Linked DNA regions of Homo sapiens: all the other regions are linked to region 2. The links are contacts of gene promoters, found by promoter capture Hi-C in blood cells and fetal thymus (Javierre and others, 2016). All regions are on one chromosome and are shown on one strand. The core of a region is centred on a gene start or on the middle of the fragment in contact, and the rest is flanking DNA. Distances in the headings are between cores, read along the strand shown. Region 1 has its middle 34 kb from the start of LINC01702. Region 2 holds the start of DYNLT5 (dynein light chain Tctex-type family member 5). Region 3 overlaps PDE4B (phosphodiesterase 4B).

What was found. Contacts are between HindIII fragments. The CHiCAGO score rates a contact against its expected background, and 5 or more counts as called.
Region 1: a fragment that was not itself captured here is called in contact with the fragment with the promoter of DYNLT5 in region 2 in 7 of 17 cell types (total CD4 T cells, naive CD4 T cells, total CD8 T cells and 4 more); the score reaches 8.4 in total CD4 T cells.
Region 3: a contact is called between a fragment that was not itself captured here and the fragment with the promoter of DYNLT5 in region 2, in 1 of 17 cell types (naive B cells). The highest score is 7.1, in naive B cells.

Annotation. Positions count from the first base shown.
Region 1 is chr1:67,486,344-67,490,906 of GRCh38, forward strand. No RefSeq gene overlaps it. Among named protein-coding and RNA genes, the nearest start is that of LINC01702, 34 kb to the right of the region's middle. The HindIII fragment of the contact is 4,993 bases long and covers 225-4,563 here.
Region 2 is chr1:66,750,319-66,754,648 of GRCh38, forward strand. It overlaps DYNLT5 (dynein light chain Tctex-type family member 5), which reads left to right and starts at 2,141. Exons shown (of 5, transcript NM_152665.3): 1 at 2,141-2,266. It overlaps SGIP1 (SH3GL interacting endocytic adaptor 1), which reads left to right. Exons shown (of 25, transcript NM_032291.4): 25 at 1-821. The HindIII fragment of the contact is 3,147 bases long and covers 1,481-4,330 here.
Region 3 is chr1:65,958,594-65,962,550 of GRCh38, forward strand. All of the region lies in intron 3 of PDE4B (phosphodiesterase 4B), which reads left to right. Among named protein-coding and RNA genes, the nearest start is that of PDE4B-AS1, 90 kb to the right of the region's middle. The HindIII fragment of the contact is 1,103 bases long and covers 1,086-2,188 here.

The DNA of each region.
Region 1 (4,563 bases), core at 1,471-3,970, 740 kb after region 2:
GCCAGACATGGTGGCACATGCCTGTAATCCCTGCTGCTGGGGAGGCCGAGCCAGAAGAATTGCTTGAACCTGGGAGGCAGAGATTGCAGTGAGCTGAGATGGCGCCACTGCTCACCAACCTGGGTGACAGAGCAAGACTCTGTCTCAAAAAAGAGAAAGAAAGGAGGACACTTTGGGACTTGGGGACCCTACCCTTTTATTTTAGGACAAGCAGGCCTTGGTAAAGCTTACTGTTACAAATTCTTTAGGTTTTCTGGAGCCAGACTGCTTAGGTTAGAGTCCTAGCTCTGATACTTGGAAGCTATAACTTTGGGCATATTACTTAACTGCTCTGTACCTGAGTTTTTTATCTGTAAAGCAGGCCTTTAAAAAACAATCTACCTCATAGGATTATTGTGAGAATTTAATAAGTCAATGTTAGTTAAGTGCTAGAGCTAAGTACCTATCACATAAACATTCAACAAATGTGTTGCTGTCATTGTCACAGGTAAGCTACTGTACCCCACTCATACCTCAGATGGCAGTGAAGGTGGGGATATACACTCCCTGGGCAGGGTTCTCCCTGAAGTCAGGGTATAGCTTGAATTACATACTTTAATTCAGAAGCCATTTTTATACCAGGCTTGGTTGGACACTTTACTTACATCATTGGCTTTGATCTTCCCAACAAACTTAAGAAGAATTATTGCCCCCATTTTATACACATAGTAACTCAGGTTTAAAGACATCAACTGACTTACCCAACCCCGTGAAGCTACTACTATTCCTAGGCCCATCCCTGAGATCCTGATCCAGTAGGTCAAGGTAAGGTCCACGAATCTGTATTGCAGTTTCTATCCTCCACTCCTTCCTCCTGCTTCCAAGTTCTTTTTCTTTTTCTTTTTTTAAAAATAGAGATGGGGCCAGACACGGTGGCTCATGCCTGTAATCCCAGCACTTTGGGAGGCCGAGGCAGTCAGATTACCTGAGGTCAAGAGTTCAAGACCAGTCTGCCCAACATGGTGAAACCTTGTCTCTACTAAAAATACAAAAATTAGCTGGGCATGGTGGTGGCTGCCTGTAATCCCAGCTACTTGGGAGGCTGAGGCAGGAGAATCACTTGAACCCGGGAGGCAGAGGTGTGCCAAGATCACGCCACTGCACTCCAGCTTGGGCAACAGAGTGAAACTGTGTCTCAAAAACAAACAAACAAACAAACAAAATCGAGATGAGTTCTCACTATGTTGCACGGGCTGATCTCAAACTCCTGTTCTCAAGCAATCCTTCTGCCTCGGCCTCCCAAAGTGCTAAGATTACAGGTGTGAGCTACAGTGCCTGACTCCACTTCTCAACTTTGAAAAGAGTGACCCCTTTACTATACGTTGGATAACTTTGGCCTAGATGATCTCAAAGGCTCTCTCTGTCTGCAAAGTCTGTAAAGATGAGAAAGTCCATATATGCAAAGCGGACAGTTTAGTGAGGAAGGCAGTTAATGTAAACATAAAAACATGTTTTTAATAAGTGAACTAATCCAGTTCACACCACTGGTTCCTTGATACAGTCATTCTCTAACAAGCAAAATGGGGCTGAAAGTATGCTGAACTGATGTAAGGTGTGCTGAGCTTTGACAGGTTCACTGCACCTTCACAGAGTACCTTGGACCTTTCACAAATACGTGTTCTGTTCATCCTCTCATCTTAGAGGTATCCAAGAACAGGACCTCGTCTTCGAGGTACCACCACTAGAGATAGCCTTCCCAGGGGCTGCCAGCTTTAAACTCTACAAAGCCTATGACATCATTTGGAATCAAAGTGGAAAAGTCATGGTAATAGTAGTTGTAATCAAATCAGTTAGGAATCTTTTGGTGACACATGTCAGAAAATCCAACCCAAAAATGACATGACCTAAGCTGGGCACAATGGCTTATGCCTGTAATACCAGCATTTTGGGAGGCTGAGGTGGGTGGATCACTTAACGTTAGGAGTTCGAGACCAGCGTGGGCAACATGGCGAAACCCTGCCTCTACCAAAAATACCAAAAAATACAGCCGGGTGTGGTGGTGTGTGCCTGTAGTCCCAGCTACTCTGGAGGCTGAGGTGGGAGGATCGCTTGAACCTGGAGGCAGAGGTTGCAGTGAGCCGAGATTATGCCACTACACTCCAGCCTGGGTGATGGAGTGAGAGTTTTTCTTAAAAAAGAAAAAAAAAGAGGCTGGCACAGTGCCTTGTGTCTGTAATCCCAGCTACTCGGGAGGCTGAGGCACGAGAATCACTTGAACCCGGAAGGCAGAGGTTGCAGTGAGCTAAGATTGTGCCACTGCACTGCAGCCTGGGTGACAGAGCGAGACTCCATCTCAAAAAAAAAAAAAAAAAAAAAAAAAAAAGAAAAGAAAACAGTGGAGGCTCTTGCTGAACGTAGAGTAAAGGAATGTTGCCAATAAATTTCAACAACAAACCTTTGAGCTCTTACTATGTGCCACACTCTGTGCTAAGCACACTAGGTGCATGACCCCATTTGATCTGTATAAATGACTCAAGAGGGATGCATTCAGATTAACCTCATATAATGGACGAAGAAGCCAAGGCTCAGAGACGTTAGGTAACATGTTCAAGGTCACATAGCTAGTAAGTGGTAGAGCTGCGTTTGAGCTAGTTCTCTCTGATTCAACATCTATTCTTGTTCCATTTTATGAAGCTGCCTGGGGCATCAGCTTCCTCTAAGGCATATAGACTGGAAACATCAGAGTCTTTCTCAACATTTCTTCTTCATTTTCTACATCCAGTTAGTCATCAAATTCAGTGGATCCTACTTCCACCAGGTTTTGTGCTGTCTGTTTCCATGTTTGGTTCCCATTGCCACTGCCCTAGATAAGGACTTGGTCACTTCTTCCTGGACTATTAAAATAGTTTACTCTTTTCTCAGAGACTCCACACAGGTGGTCTGAGAGTCATTTTAACTTACAAGTTCATACTTAAAAGTTAGAGTCCTGGGCGAGGCACAGTGGCTCTTGCCTGTAATTCCGGCACTTTGGGAGGCCGAGGTGGGCAGACAGCTTGAGCCCAGGAGTTTGAGACCAGCCTGGGAAACATGGTGAAACCCCATCTCTACTGAAAATACAAAAATCAGCCAGGTGTGGTGGCACGTGCTTGTAGTCCCAGCTACTTGGGAGGCTGAGGTGAGAAAATCCTTTGAACCAGGGAGTTTGAGGCTGCAGTGAGCTGTGATCGCGCCACTGTACTCCAGCCTGGATGACAGGGCAAGACCCCGTCTCCCAAGAAAAAATAAATAAATTTAAAAAATTAAAATTAAATTAAATTAATTAAAAATAAAAATTTTAAACAAGTTAGCATCTCATGAAAATCTGTATTGTTTGGCTTTCCCTGAAAAATGGAAAAATCTGATAACACTGGACTCATAATCTACATGGCAGCATTGGCTGGAACTGAGCAGCGGCAGCCCACTGATGAGAAGGTATGTGTGGTTCAGTTGACCAGGTACCTATTGCAATTTTGTTCCTTGTCTGCCCTCTGTAGGCATCTGAGTGTGCAAACCTAGTAGTTAGTCTCTCCCCATTTAAACCCATCCTCCTGTAGACCCTGCAGTTATCTTCCTAAACCATGATCTCAGTATTCTGAGTATTTCATACTCAATTTTCAGATCATATTTATTTATTTGTAGAGACAAGATCTTGCTCTGTCCCAGGGTGCTGTGGTGTGATCATAGCTCACTGCAGCCTCAAACCTCTGGGCTTACCCAATCCTCCCATTTCCGTCTCCCAAGTAGCTAGGACTACAGGTGTGTGCCACCATGCCCAGCTAAGTTTTTAATTCTTTGGAGAGACAGGGTCTCATTATGTTGCCCAGACTGGTCTCAAACTCCTGGCCTCCAGCAATCCTCTTGCCTTGGCCTCCCAGAGTGAAAGAATTACAGGTGTGAGCCACCGTGCCCAGCCGCAATTTTCACATTTCATAGTTCCTCATTGACTACAGATTCATTACACACTTGGTCCCAATCTACTTTTCCAGGCCTATCTCCAACTGTGCCCACATGTCCTCTGCTTCAGCCACATCCTTCTAGAATCTGCTCAACACCCCTTCTCCCACAGGGTTTGCTCAAGCCTCATTCTCTGGGCCTCTAATGTGCTTTCTTGGTCCTCTCTGTGCCTCCTCAAATCCACTCTTTGAATGATGCCCACATGACTTTCAATGACCAGTTTGATTCCTACCTCTTCCAAGAAGCCTTGGGTCTTTTCGATTTATTTATTTGTCTATTTTTAAATTTGAGACAAGGTCCCACTCTGTCACCCAGGCTGGAGTGCAGTGGTGCGATCACAGCTCACTGCAACCTCCGCCTCCCGGGTTCGAGTGATCCTCCCACCTCAGCCTCTGGAGTAGCTGGGACGACAGGCACATGCCACCACACCTGGCTATATTTCTTTGTATTTTTGGTAGAGACATGGTTTCGCCATGTTGCCCAGGCTGGTCTCAAACTCCTGAGCTGGGATTACAGGTGTGAGCCACTGCACCCGTCCCATGTTTTGTGAATTTTACCACATCTGGGGAAAAAGAGTGAGCTAACGTCTAT
Region 2 (4,330 bases), core at 891-3,390:
TCATTCTTACTAAGTGGCCATGTAAGGCATTGATTTTTTTTAAACTTGAACAATGCAAGAATCTAGGAATCTCAGAAAGATTTTGCTGTGTTTCTATAGGTAATGAAATCCTGTCAATTAAGGAAAATGCTGTGTGTAATTTGATTTGGTGGTAGCCTTTATTTAGAGCTCTCTTTGATCTATGTAGCAAAAATACACTAAATTTCTTTTTAATCTTGTACTAAGTACATAATTTCACAAAAATACCTTGGGCATAAAATACTTACAAAACTGTGAATTAAAATACTCAAGATACTTTCAAAATTTAGTCAAAATGTTGATTCCCAGCCTTTTTCCTACACGTCTATTTCAAAAGAGTATACTTTTTTCTGACAGCCATTACTGCTTAGTCTGTAATGAAAGCTTTACTGCTTCTATGCTGTGCTCAAGAGAAAACCAACAACGGAAGCGAAGACTTACTTGCTCCTTCACAGAATTGCAGCAAAGCTCTCTGCTGGGCAATGGTGACAGGAAAGTGTGTAATTGACTTGTTGAAGATAATCATGAGACCATCTTAACATTACTTGCCTTATAAGTTAGAAATAGTATGGATATCACTCTTTGTAAATAATAATTTTTGTAAATGTTTTTTGTTCATAATTTTCCCAATCACCTATTTCACAAAATCCTGAATATGCAATTATTTATTATGACACGTTACTGCAACTAGGGCTCCCATTCCAGAACAAAGTTTAATTCTATATGTAAGTTGTTACTGAAATGTGATTTCTTTTTCTGGAAAATAAATGAAAAATATGAAAATAAATTGAATTGTGAATATCTTTTGCTGTCAGCCTCTTAAAATTTTACCCGCATTTCTGGAAAACTTCATTCCATGTTTAGGGTAGGGATGGTGGGCCAAAGGTCTGTCAAAGGTCAAGGGTTAAGAGTTAGACAAATTTCAGCTCTGTGATTTAAATATCGACTTGAGCATGTTACTCAACGATTCTACATTTCCTTATCTTAAAAAAAAATAGAGTAATGTCCCCTATGTCATAGTCACTGAACAAATTCAATGAGATAATGTTTATTCATCACCTAGCAGTTCCTATCTAGTCCATAGTAGATATTCAATCAACAATCCTTTCCTGTTCTTATCTTTCTGTGAGTAGAGATTGGGATGGGCAAAAATATCTATTTCTCTTCTTCCAACACTATCCTAACACTGTGCTCCACCGGAATCCCAATGTATTACTGTCAGCTAATGCTAATTCCAGCAGGACACTCATCAAGAGCCATGCCCTTGGCTAGATGCTTGGAGGCATCTTGTTTCTGCTTCCAATGATTGCCCACTACAGGAGGGTCCCTATAGTGTTTATTTTGTTTGCTTTTGGTTTGGGGAGGCCCAAACCAGGCTTAGGCTGGGGATAGTCGCTGAAGAAGAGGAAAAGCCCATTCATACCAGCAGGTAGGTCCTCAACCCCAAACAGCCTCATTTCAAAGCTTCTTAGACATTAACAGGCTCAGAAGAGTCTTGTTAAGGAAAGCGAAGGAACCCAGCCCGGTTTGTAACACATTGGAGTTAAGACCATGAGTTTCAGGGGCCTTGGGCATATTATTTAACATTTTAGAATCTCAATTTTCCAAATCCTTTAAAGGGAAAACATTCCTTTCTTGACAGAGTTATTGGGACGACTAAATCCCAATGTTTGTCGGTATCTGGGGTATCTGGCCAATGTAAGTGCTCATTTACCTCCACATTCCACCGCCTGTGCCTTGGAGGGGGAACGTGCGAAGCAGCGTTAGGAGCCGGGAAAAGGGCAGGGCTACTTTACTTTGTCTTTGCGCTTCGGATTTCCTGTGCTAGGAAACCGCAGCACTTCCCACTCCTGCCCCTGATGTCTGCGGGAAAAGGAACTTGATGAGGGGCCCTAGGGGTGCAAATGTCTTTAGTCCCAAATGTCTTCCTCGCTACACAATGAACCAGTTCCCCTCCAGCTCGCCGCCAACCCAGGACGCAGCCCGGCTCAGAGTGACCCCCAGTGGGCAGTGAAGATGAGATCCTCTACATCCTTAGGGCAGCTCAGAGGGCCACTCAGCGGCCAAGTCCGGCCGGGGAGGGCCGAGGGCTCTGTTTGAGGTCACCCTGGAGACCGGCCTCAGAGTCCAGGGAGAGTGCGCGGGCGGCCGCCGGCTGAATGAAGCCTGGGACGCGGGAGCCGCGCCGCGCGCAGTGTCTGCAGTGCCGGAGGTCTGGGAGGCTCCGGGCGAAGCCTCCCTGCTGCAGGTAGGGTCGCCTCTCTCTGCAGCGCGTCTGGACCCCAAAGGAAGGATAGGGGGCAAGGGATCGGCCCTTTGTTGAGAAATGGCCCTACTTGGCCCCGATCTCTCCGCCACCTTATTCCTCCTCTCCCCAACACATAAGAAAAAATGATCCCAAATTTGGGAACTGAAAGTCGGTCCCAACGGTTCGTCCCCTGCCCCATTGCATGGCTGGGGGCTGGGCTTCAAGAGTGATGGCCAACGCAGAGCCGGCCAGCAAGGTCATCCCCTGACCCGGGGCGGTCTTCCTGTGGCTGGCCGCACCCATGAGGACCTCCAGGTCCCAACTCTGGCCTTTCTTGGGGAGGGGGCGGCCTGCAGGGCAGCTTTGGAAACAGCTGAGGCCGAGATGGGTCTATGTGGCTTTGCAGCAAAACCTGAATGACCCACCTAATCAGGCTGTGTGTCTTTCCACACTCATAAACACACTCACCTTCGTACACACGAACACAGACACACTTATACACACAGGCACCTGCACACACAGAGATGCACACTCACAGGTACACACTCAAGGACGCTCACACTCACGTGCACACACACACCACGCTGCCTGCCTCACCCACACACAGCACCTCTGCTCTGACATTGATGCCACTGGGTTTTAGGGTATGTTCTTGTGTGCCCTACCTACTCAACTGCCAGCTCCTTGAAGGCATGGATTCTCTTCTATTTTTATGCTTTGGTGTCTAGCACAGTATTTCCTTATCGGGGCTCTCACATTTATAGATTATGAAATAATTTAAATGAATACTTAAATTTGTAGGTAGACAATGAGGGCATTATTAGAGTTATAGTCCAAGTTCTGGGAAGTCCATTGCTACTACCAGCTTTTTAACAAGTATTAGTAGGAAGGAGGGAGTTTTCCAATAAATTATTTATTTAAAAGTTAAGTCCTATTTGCTCTTTACAAACTATGTAAATGTTGCTCGAGAAAACAAAACAAACAACAAAAAATCTTTGGGAAAGCAAGGTTAATTTTAATTTTTATTTATTTATTTATTTTCTAGCTCCCTACCCCTAATTTTATTTTTTAAAGTCATGGTGGGTCAGGCACAGTGGTTGATGCCTGTAATTCCAGCACTTTGGGAGGCCAAGGCAGGAGGATCACTTAAGGCCAGGAGATTAAGGCCAGCCTGGGCAACACAGAAAGATCTTGTCTCTACAAAAATGTTTAAAAATTAGCTAGGCATGGTGGTGCAGGCCTGTAGTCCTAGCTACTAGGGAGGCTGAGGTGGGTGGACCGCTTGAGCCCAGGAGTTTGAAGTTACGGTGAGCTATGATCATGCCACTGCACTCCAGCCTGGGTAACAAGAGCTAGATCCTGTCTCTAAAATAATAAAATAGGCCAGGTAGAGTGGCTCATGCCTGTAATCCCAGCACTTTGGGAGGCTGAAGCAGGATTGCTTGATCCCAGGAGTTCAAGACCAGCCTGGGCAACATAGACCCTATCTCTACAAAAAATTAAAAATTAGCCCAGCTTGATGGCATACACCTGCAGTCCCAGCTACTCAGGTGGCTGAGTTGGGAGGAACGCTTGAGCCCAGGTGTTTGGGGCAGTAGTGAGCCATGATCATGCCACTGCACTCCAACCTGGGTGACAGAACAAGACCCTGTCTCAAAAATAAAATATAACAGTGACAGCAAATATTAATTAGCAAAGTTGTATTATGGTTACATTTGGGGGGCAATACAAATATTGGTTTCTGATGTAGGATAGCATCTTTCTGCTATACATGCATATCTTTTGTCAATGACCTCCGTCTTCATCAGCTAAGCATTTTTGCTATAGCTTAATATCTGCTTATGTAAATAATTATACTATTGCATAAATAAGCATTTTCAGAGTTATCATAGTTCCAGTTTCACTGATCAGAATAACAACAAATTCTATATATTGCTCTTGAGGAAACCCCACTTTCCTGTTCAAAAATGGTAGGAAAACTATCTGTGTACTTTGAGATTAGTCCCTGTTATACTAACTAAAATGTTTCCGGATCTTTCTTTTGCTATTTTACAAAAGTCTTCT
Region 3 (3,957 bases), core at 387-2,886, 790 kb before region 2:
GGGAAGATTTTTTAAAACTGTGATTCGTTTTTAACCTATTTAAAGCCTACTCTTTATTCTTAATACTGTTTTAATGTTATGTTTTTTCTAATAATGTGTCCATTTTGACTAAGTTTTTTAGTATGTTGGTATAATGTGATACACACACACACACACGCGCGCGCGCGCGCGCACACACATACACACACGCAAAATACCATAGTGTTACCTTATCTTTTTAACCTGTTTTATCTGCAGTTGTATATCTGCAGTAATCTGCAGTTTTGTATCTGTAGTTATGACTTATATAGTTATATTTAAAACTTCTTTTGAAACAAATGTTCGTAACTGCATATCAGAAAAGTATTACAGAAGGTATTTAATCATTTAAATTTGAGTGTGTTCTGTGCTTCCCAGATGCAGAAATAAAATATTTTCTTTTGTTTTATTTTCCAACACAAGAGGGCAGCATTGCTGCACTGTTAATTTCCTGTAGGCTAACACCGCTGTGCCTTGTGTAGGTTTAAATATACAGCACATCTCTTTCAAATGGATAATCATTTGAGGATTGCATAAATGTGGACCTTGTCTATTTTTCACTTACATGACATTCATTGAAATTTAGTTTTGAAAACAATACTCTCTGATTAGCATTTATACATGTTTTATATTTGCTTCATTGTTTCTGATTCTGTAACAATCACCTCATTCTGAGAAGACTAGGTACTGTTGTGTTTGATAGTGTGTATGTATGGTAATTTTCTAGAAATCTGAATTTTTTTAAATGGGCTTTTCAATGATATTACTGAGAAATAGGTAGGGTACTATTTTGACATAAAGGATAAAGAACCCACAAAGTCCATGAGCTTCCTGTCGGATATGAGAGATTAAAACTGCTGCTGACTACACCACCAGGTCCATGTCAATTAACTCATTTGCAGATGGGAGGTGAGAGTGCAAAAATAATATTAACATTAATATTAAGTACCATTACTGGCTACTCATTATAGCTTAGATTCTTTATTTGCTCTACTTAGATTTATTTTTATAACATCATCCTGTAAAGTAGGTATTATTACCCCCATTTTTACAGATGAGGAGGCAGAAGCTTGGGTTGGCTAACTCACCCCTTAGTTCATGAGGGTCAGAAGAGGGTGCTGATTAATAAATCCCCAGGCTTTCTCACTACTGCACACTGCCTCACCATCAACAGCAAAACAGGTTGAATTCGACGATTCAGTAAAAAAGTAATTTTGATAGTTGAGTTCCTTTATCCCTTACCACGTCTATTTCACATATATGATTATTATTATTTTGGTAGAGATGAGGTCTTTTTATGTTGTTCAGGCTGGTCTCAAACTCCTGGGCTCAAGCAATTCTCTTCCTCCTGAGCCTCCTAAACTGCAGGGATTACGGGCATGAGCCACGTGCCTGGCTCACATATTTGATTTGGTCTAGGCTATCTTAACAAAATACAAAATGCTTTGTAAAGTCTACATTTTATTATTGCATTTGCTATTTTTAGCTCTTTATGTCTGAGCAATTGTTTAATGCCTGTGCCTGAGAATCTTTTTCTCAACAGGGGAACTGCGGGGGAGATTCCAGAAGTTCCTTTTAGAGTTGTTGTTTCACTGTATCAGTGCATCGGTGACTGAGAAGGAAGTATTTGCTTTTGTGTGGCAGCGCAGTAAATTCGCAGAACACAGTTCCAAGAAGCCCAAGGCACTAGCAAGAATGATAGGTCACCATCTCCATTATCTGTCGGTGGTGGATATGGAAGATAGCATTCTATATTAACTTTTGAGAAAGAGAAAGTTAGGCAAGAAGAGATTGCTGAAATAGATTGTCTGTGATTGCTGAGGTTGAAAGTTTTTTATTCTTGGCCAAGGAATGTATCTTTTGGGTTTAACATCACTTTAGGAGTCAGACAGCCTTGAATGTTAGACTGAGCTTTGCATTTTTTAGGTCATGACTTTAGGCAGATTCCCTGAGCCTCAGATTCATCATCTGTGAAAGAAAGATAAGACTAATACCAATTTATCCAGGCTAAAAATATATATAAAAATATATTTTTTCAAACATACACATTCAAAAATAATGACCATATTTTTAAATGCTATCCTACGTTGTGTCAAGGGCACCAGTTTCTAACTTAGAGACATTTGCAATTTTGAGCAGTGTCTTCTGAGGCCACTGGGTATCTCTAGAAAGCTTGAAGTTTAGGAGTAAACAGAAAAAAGCTTGTGAACATGCTTTATAAACTGTAAAGATTTGTAAATATATAAAATCATTATAATGGCTCCTCTCTCTGAACTCAACTTCCACTGGATACATGGCATATACTTTTGCATGTATCAACTTAGCTCAAATCAATAAAAAACATTTTTGGACTCCTGGTAAGTCCAAACATTTATTCATTAAAAAAATTATTAGGGACCTAAATGTACACTGTTTTAGGCACTGGAGATTGGACAAGAAACAAAACAGATGAAACCTTTGCCCGTGGAGCTTGTATTTGTAGAGGTGACATATGTGGATCACACATAGGTAGGATGTTTCATAATAATATAGAGAAAAATAAAGTCTAGGCAAATGGCTAGAGAATGGTGGAGGCTTGCTACTTTAGATGGAATTGTCCAAAAGCCTTCTTTGAAGAGGGAAAAAACTGAGCAAAGACTTGAATGAAAGAAAGAAACCAGCCATACATCTGTCTAGAAAAACTGAGTTATTGGCAGAGAGAACAAAAAGTCAAAGGCCTTGAAATGAGGATGTGTGCCTGGTATGTTTGCAAAATGGCAGGAAAGCTATGGTAAACCATACAAATTATTGGGTTTTCCATGTAATCCATTGTCTCTTTGAGAGACGATATCTATTATAATATTATAATTTTATAGCTCCTCTTTTATAGGTGTTCATAATAAGAATAAAGATAATAATTAGTACTTTTTGAGTACTTGCCATGTGCTATATTTGTCCTTACAACCCTCCCAAATAAATATAATTATCCACCATTATACAGAGACTCTAAATAGCTTTCCTAAGGTAGCATATTCAATAAGTTGGTGAGGCAACGGTTTGTCTTATTTCAAGTGCAGGGTGCATAATAACTCAATGGGAAGACAGATGAGTGAAAAATGCGTAGTAATGTCAGAGGGCTTATGAAAGGTACCTAGGGAAGGTGTCATGAAGTTACTTAGGGAAGGTGTCATGTTATGCCATAGAGGATCAGTTCCTTAAGGAAGGAGAAGATGGATTGGGAGTGGAGAGAGAATTTCCTGCGAGAAACAAAGGCATGAAGGCTTGAAAGAGCATGGGGTACATACGCAGTAAATAACAAACAGTTAAGTGCGGCTGAAGAGTCTGTAGCATGCGATTTAACACAGATGCTTCTCCACTTATAATGAGATTACAACCTGATAAACCCATTATAAGTTGAAAATATTGTTAGTCGAAAATGCACTTAATATACGTAACCCACAGAGCATCATAGCTTAGCCCAGCTTACCTTACATGTGCTTAGAACATTTACTTTAGCCTACGGTTGGGCAAAATCATCTACCACAAAGCCTATTTTATAATAAAGTATTGAATATCTCATGTAATTGATTGAATACTGCACTGAAGTGAAAAACAGAATAATTGTATGGGTACTCAAAGTAAGGTTTCTACAGAATGTGCATCCCTTTCACAACTTCCTAAGGTCAAAAAGGGGTCAGTTGAACCATTGTAAGTTGGGGACCATCTGCAGACATGCTCAGGTGCTACTTTGCCAGGCAGGGTCTGCTACTGTAACATAAGACACCTCCCAGCCATGGCTGATTGGACAGAGGTGGAACTCTGACCCACAGGTAGCAGAATCCACTGTTTTACTAGGGACATAGGATGTGTGTGGCTTGACTCAAGCAGCTGAGGTGACTGAATCAGATTCTGACTTTCAAAACATTGAAGCAAGGATGCAGAAACTGTTGCTAGTCCATG